Regions from separate parts of the Homo sapiens genome. Here region 2 is linked to region 1. Evidence: promoter capture Hi-C in human tissues and cell types (Jung and others, 2019). All regions are on one chromosome and are shown on one strand. The core of a region is centred on a gene start or on the middle of the fragment in contact, and the rest is flanking DNA. Distances in the headings are between cores, read along the strand shown.

Region 1 (2,889 bases), core at 167-2,666:
TGTTACTCCTATTAGGCTGACTTCTAACAATCAAGAATAATATTTTGTATGTTACAGGGAAATACAAAATTATACACAGTGAACTATAAACAAATTATTTGTTAGTTGATTTCTACTCATTACTCCAAGTATGGATAATTACACCACATACGAGGTCTACTGAACATTAATGAAGATAAAACTTACTTAAGCAAGGTCAAGGCTTTCCTAAAATATTTTTAAGTTCAACGGCTGGACTTGGCACTATTGTCTTCTGCCTATGTAAAGTGTTCCTTACACTATAATCAAAGGAAAGGCTAGTAGACAAGGAGTTTCTGACATCTCTGATACCTCTCTAGTTACTTGCAAAGTACAGGAGAGAAGTTGATTAGTTTATTCTTACCATTTTGATTGCAACTTCCAAACCAGTGTGAATGGACTCAGCTCTGTAGACACCAGCAAATGATCCTTTACCAAGCAGATTTCCAACTTTAAAATCCTTAAAAGTTAAAATTAAAGATTATGTGTGATGACTCACAGTAGAAAGGAAGATGGGAAGGGGCTGGAAAAAGAAGATAAAATGGATCGAGTGGGGAATTTGACAAAATTCAAGCGGGTATTACACCTCGATGCAGCAGGTGTCTAGGGTGGAAGGCATGTTGACTCCGTGCGGGGATACCTGCGCTTCCAGGCTGGACTGGAAGCTCAGGGTGATGGTGCACCCTAGTGATCTGGTTCCTCAACCTCAGTGCAGCCTAAGCGCCCTCCTCCCATCTCCAGCCAATCCCCGGGAGCGGAGGGCTCGGTCAGAATCCCGCCGCAGCTCCCGCCGGAGATAACCGCCATCCCCTTGGAGAAGTGGGAGGTAGCCCTGCCCTGCTCTAACGCGGTAGCTCGGGCGGGATTGCTGAAAGAAAGCCGCAGTGCCTCGGGACACTGCCGGGCGGGGAGGGACTCACCTGTCCCGCCTTCCCTACTCTTGTCTCTTGAGGGGCGGGCCGCTCCGCCCCTAAACAGCAGGGGTCTGGGCCGTTGGGACCCTCCCTAAGCACCTCGGTGCCCGCCCCGCAGCCGTTAGCTTCGTTCGCTCCCCTTCCCACAGCGGTCTCGTGTCCTCCCACAATTACTCCCACCCGCCCCGCTGCAGACTGCCGAGTCTTTTCACCTCGATCTTCTCCCCGATGCAGGTCGCCATATTTCCAGGCTCTGGCCTGGGTTCTCCGGATTAGCTTCCTTCACGCAGTCCCTTCGAGGCAGCGCTCCAAGCAGCCAGCCGGCCTTGGCGCCCATCAGGCTCGGCTCTCTAAACCGCCGCTCCAGGCGACGACGCTGAAACCACGGAAAGTTCTCCCTGACACCTTCCGAGGCCTGGGCGGTGCCTCTGGGCTCCCATTTTGAAAATCTCCCGCCGCTTGCCGTCCGAGCTAGGCTGGTGGTGACGTAACGAGATGGATCGCTCCGGATAGGCTGCGCCGGGGCGCGCATGCGCGGCAGACCTTCCTTTGCGGCCGGCCCAGGGTTCTAGACTTCGGGGCCAAGGGCCGGAAGCGCTGCGGAGAGTTTAGTTCGGGCGGGAGGCTGTCTCGGGCCCACTCTCGGAAGAACTTCTGCAAGACGGGTAAAAGAGCAGGCCTTAAAGATGGGACACTTATGGCTGATCGGTTACTTCACGGTCCGAAATACCACTTCTAATTCCGGAAAGGGTTTAAAACTATTTTAAAATGTCAAGCGTTTAAGACTTGACGGAACAGGGCAAAAAACATTACCTTCCTTTAAGGAACACCGTTTACACCACTACCGCTTATTCCGTAGTTTGTTATAACTGTAGTTAATGTGTACGGTACCTTAAGAAAACGAACTCCATTCTTTATTTTGGCAAACTCCTAAGTATTTAATATTATAATGTCATTTGTATAATAATTTACAGTTAGATCTCTCATACACATAATTTGTATGGATCAAAAGAGACCTCTGTAAGTTTGGGATGGTGTTTTGCAGGTGAGAAAAGTGTGATGCTTAAGGAAGGATATTTAACAAACAGAAGTAGCGCACAAACTTAGATCTTCTGTTATTAAGTGAAAGCTCTTTTCCTTGATGTTAGTGTGTATTTCTTTTTCTTTTTCTTTTTTCTTTTGAGATGGAGTCTCGCTCTGTCGCCCAGGCTGGAGTGCAGTGACTCGATCTCGGCTCACTGCAGCCTCCATCTCCTGGGTTCCAGCGATTCTCCTTCCTCAGTCTCCCGGGTAGCTGGGATTTACAGGTACGCGCCACCACGACTGGCTAATTTTTGTATTTTTAGTAGAGACGGGGTTTCACCATGTTGGCCAGGCTGGTCTCGAACTCCTGACCTCAGGTGATCCGCCTGCGTCGGCTTCCCAAAGTGCTAGGAATACAGGCGTGAGCCTCCATGCCCGGCCCATTTTTTTTTTTAAACTTTTTAGTTTCAAATAATTTTAAGCTTACAGAAAAGTTGTAAAAATAATAGAGAACTCCTGTTGTCCTTTACTCAGATTAACCAATTCTTAACATTTTGCCACACTTGTTTTTACTATTCTTCATGTGTAATATACATGTATAAATATATAAATAAGCCTATTATTTGTATTTTATGAATCATTCTAAAATAGGTTACATACACTATGCTCTTATACCCCTTATTTCTAAAGTGTGAATTTCTTAAGAACCAGGGTATCCTCTTGTATGTTTATCAAATTAAGGATATTTAGCATTGATACAATATTTATATTTAATCTAATCTACAGTTCATATTCCGATTTGTCAATTGTTCCAGTAATGTCTTTATTTAACATTTTTTCCTTCCAGTATAGATCTAGTACAGGATCACATACCGTATTTAGTTACCATATCTTTTTAATTTCCTTTAATATGGAAGAGTTCCTCAGCATTTGT
Region 2 (2,889 bases), core at 158-2,657, 250 kb after region 1:
TTAATTGTCCCTCTTTGAAAACCTTACTCATAATCGCTACTCGCTGAGGAATATGAACCCGAGTCGCTGACCCGATCTTCAAAATCATAGTCCTCATCTTCTTCTTGTGAAGAGGGGTCTCCAGGGAGCTCGTCTGAGCTCGGACGCGAATCGCACGAAGCCACAGAGGCCATCGTCAGGAATGCAATAGCTACGAGTGGAGTAATTCAAATCTCGCAGCTATAGCTTGCTAAGGCCGCCATGTTGCCTCTGCTTGGGAAGGGGCAGAGGCCATGTGACCACCAATCCTTAGCTGCAATTGGTGGCAGGTCGCGTTGCCAGGGAGACGGAGAAGCTTCCCAGAAGAAACAGGGAGAACAGAAAGCAGCCAATGGGCTGAAACTTCCAGGAGGGCTTCTCAGTTGGAAGGATAGAAATAGCTAAAACTTCACCGCTTACGCTCTCCGGAACGCAATTCCTTAGAGCAGCATAACCTGTTAAAACAGGCGGAGATGCACTGGGCTTCTCACCTTTTTCTTCCAGTGCTGGATATCCAGTTTGCTCTTTGTCCTGTGTTTCTAATGCCTAACAGCTGTCGGTCAGCCTGGATTTCCTTCGAGGTGAAGGAAACCGCACTTTACCTTTCCTTAGGACCTCATCCGTGCAAGTAATGGACGCTTTTAAGCAACGCGATCTAGGTGTTAATGTAAATACGCTCCATTGTTTTATGGGTTTCATATTGTTTCGCAATTGCAAACATTTTCACGGTTATCCCAAGTGGGTATTGTAGAGTGCCACAAATGAGTGGCAATCCTGTGGAATCAACTTCATGTTCATTTTCTAACTCAAAATTTTATAATCTAATTAAGTGTTCTCATTATTAAAGTTGGAAGTGTAAACAGGTAAAATCTACCTGTTATTTATGAATACCTATATCAAGTATTTTTTAAGTACAAAAATAACAGCTAGCATTGATTGAGAGTCAGCCTTGGCTCTGCTCACTTTATTCATATACAATGCTGAGCATTCACATACTATGAAGTAAATATTTTCTCTATATTAAATAAGGAAACTAAGCTTTAGAGAAGTTATGCATCTTACTAATGGTTACATGGCTAGCAGTCAACAAAGTCAACCAAGAAATGAACCTAAGTCAATAACCATTACATGAAATTTCCTCCCTCAGAACCCAGTAATTCAACTATTAGATATCTACTCTGAGAAAGGATGCAAATTTATAAAATTTGTAAAAGTGAAAAGCTGAAAGCAATCTTAAAATGTCAAATAATGGGGGAAAAGTTAAATATATATAAAATATGATGATTATGATTTTAACTAGAATGTGTTCAAAGAGTAAAGCATGGGGGAAATGTTCATGTTGCAGCGTGTAAAAAAAGGATATAATGTTATTTTATGATCTAAAAGGCTGGGTGCTGGGGATTCTCTAATGGGCAATTATAACATAGTGATAAGTATTACAATAAATACAAGGTTCTAATGGAATATCCAGAAAAAACCAAAGTAGTATACGTGGGGCCATGACAAATTTCTTAGAGGAAGTATTAATTTATATTGTTATTATGGCATGGTTCCAACAGAGAAAGAGTAATGGGAGATGAGTCATCACATGGCCGGTATGGGTATATGCATGGAGAACTCAAAGGAACCTGAATTGTAGCTGTTGCAGGGGCAGAAAAACTCTACCTCCATCTTCTTAGGGTCCCAGCTGGGCCTGAGAATTAAACTTACCTAAAATAGATTAACAAAAGAAAAGCAACTGGAACTTGTTATACAGATGTTGAGGCCCTGCTCCACATCAACAGGATCAGAATCTCCAGTGGAGGGGCCTGGAAATCTCTATTTCAAACAAGTGCCCCCTGTGATTCAGCAAACTTGGGGAACTGCCCTAAATTTTCTCTCAGTTCTGTGCTTCATCTATACAGGCCAACTGGCCATTCCCTGAATAGGCTGGAACCCACTCCCACCTCGCAAATTTGAGCCTGGCAGACAGACCTCTCTCCTTGCTCTAGAATCCAAGTTTTACATGGCAGGGGAGCCCTCATAAAGAAATGAAGACCCAAAGAAGCAGTTAGAGTCAGTTAACTTATATACTGGATTGGACAAAGAATAGTTAGTTGTGAAGAAGCAACTAAACTAAATTGGGAAGCTTAAAAGATAAGTTATTTTAACAAGGTCTGTACAGAATTCTCTTGGTTTCACTTCTATGCCCTTGAGAATAAGAATGTTACATTTTTCTAGTATAGGGAGGGTGTCTTTCACATGGGAGCTTCATCTGTTGCTTTTAAGAAGCAGCACAAAGGCACTTGCTGTTTTTCAAGTGTATTAAACTTAAATGGCCAGGATAGTATATTTTACCTTCCTCACAGCCAAACAAGCTGCAGTATGCAGCTTATACTTTTAAGCTGAAGTTTAGTTGTATTTACATTAACTGTACATTACATGTACAAATATACATTAAACTATGTACATTTGAATTTGTATATTACATGTACAAATGTACATTAAACTATATACATTTGAATTTCCTAGGTTTTATGGTTTTGTTTTAATTTCTAAATGTGTTTTTATAGTGTTATAACAGCGATTACATTTTGTAATTTATTTGTATTAATTCATAAAATTGTTTTCATCTTATATAGGAGCTATAAAGCACAGATTATACCTCATTTATTTAAAATTATAATTAAAAAACTTAAGTCATCCATGGAAATCCACAATAGTTTTTCCTTAAAAGAGGTCTATATGTTACTAAAGTTGAAGAACAGGAGGAGGAGTTTGTAAAGGGGTAATGGGCAAAAGGAGTGTCAGAGGCATTTGAACCAGAGCGACTCCATCTTGAATAGGGGCTGGGTAAAATAAGGCTGAGACCTACTGGGCTGCTACTCAGGA

The links. The method cuts DNA at HindIII sites, captures the fragments that hold promoters and counts their contacts. A contact is called where the count stands out against the background at its distance.
Region 2: a contact is called between a fragment that was not itself captured here and the fragment with the promoter of PLK4 in region 1, in 1 of the 25 tissues and cell types used here (hippocampus).

Annotation. Positions count from the first base shown.
Region 1 is chr4:127,879,420-127,882,308 of GRCh38, reverse strand. PLK4 (polo like kinase 4) reads right to left here and starts at 1,416. Exons shown (of 16, transcript NM_014264.5): 1 at 1,145-1,416; 2 at 383-478. The coding sequence starts at 1,174. RefSeq lists an enhancer at 1,093-1,332. The HindIII fragment of the contact is 10,406 bases long and covers 1-2,889 here.
Region 2 is chr4:127,630,319-127,633,207 of GRCh38, reverse strand. INTU (inturned planar cell polarity protein) reads right to left here and starts at 251. Exons shown (of 16, transcript NM_015693.4): 1 at 28-251. The coding sequence starts at 173. RefSeq lists enhancers at 222-401, 64-603. The HindIII fragment of the contact is 3,914 bases long and covers 1-2,889 here.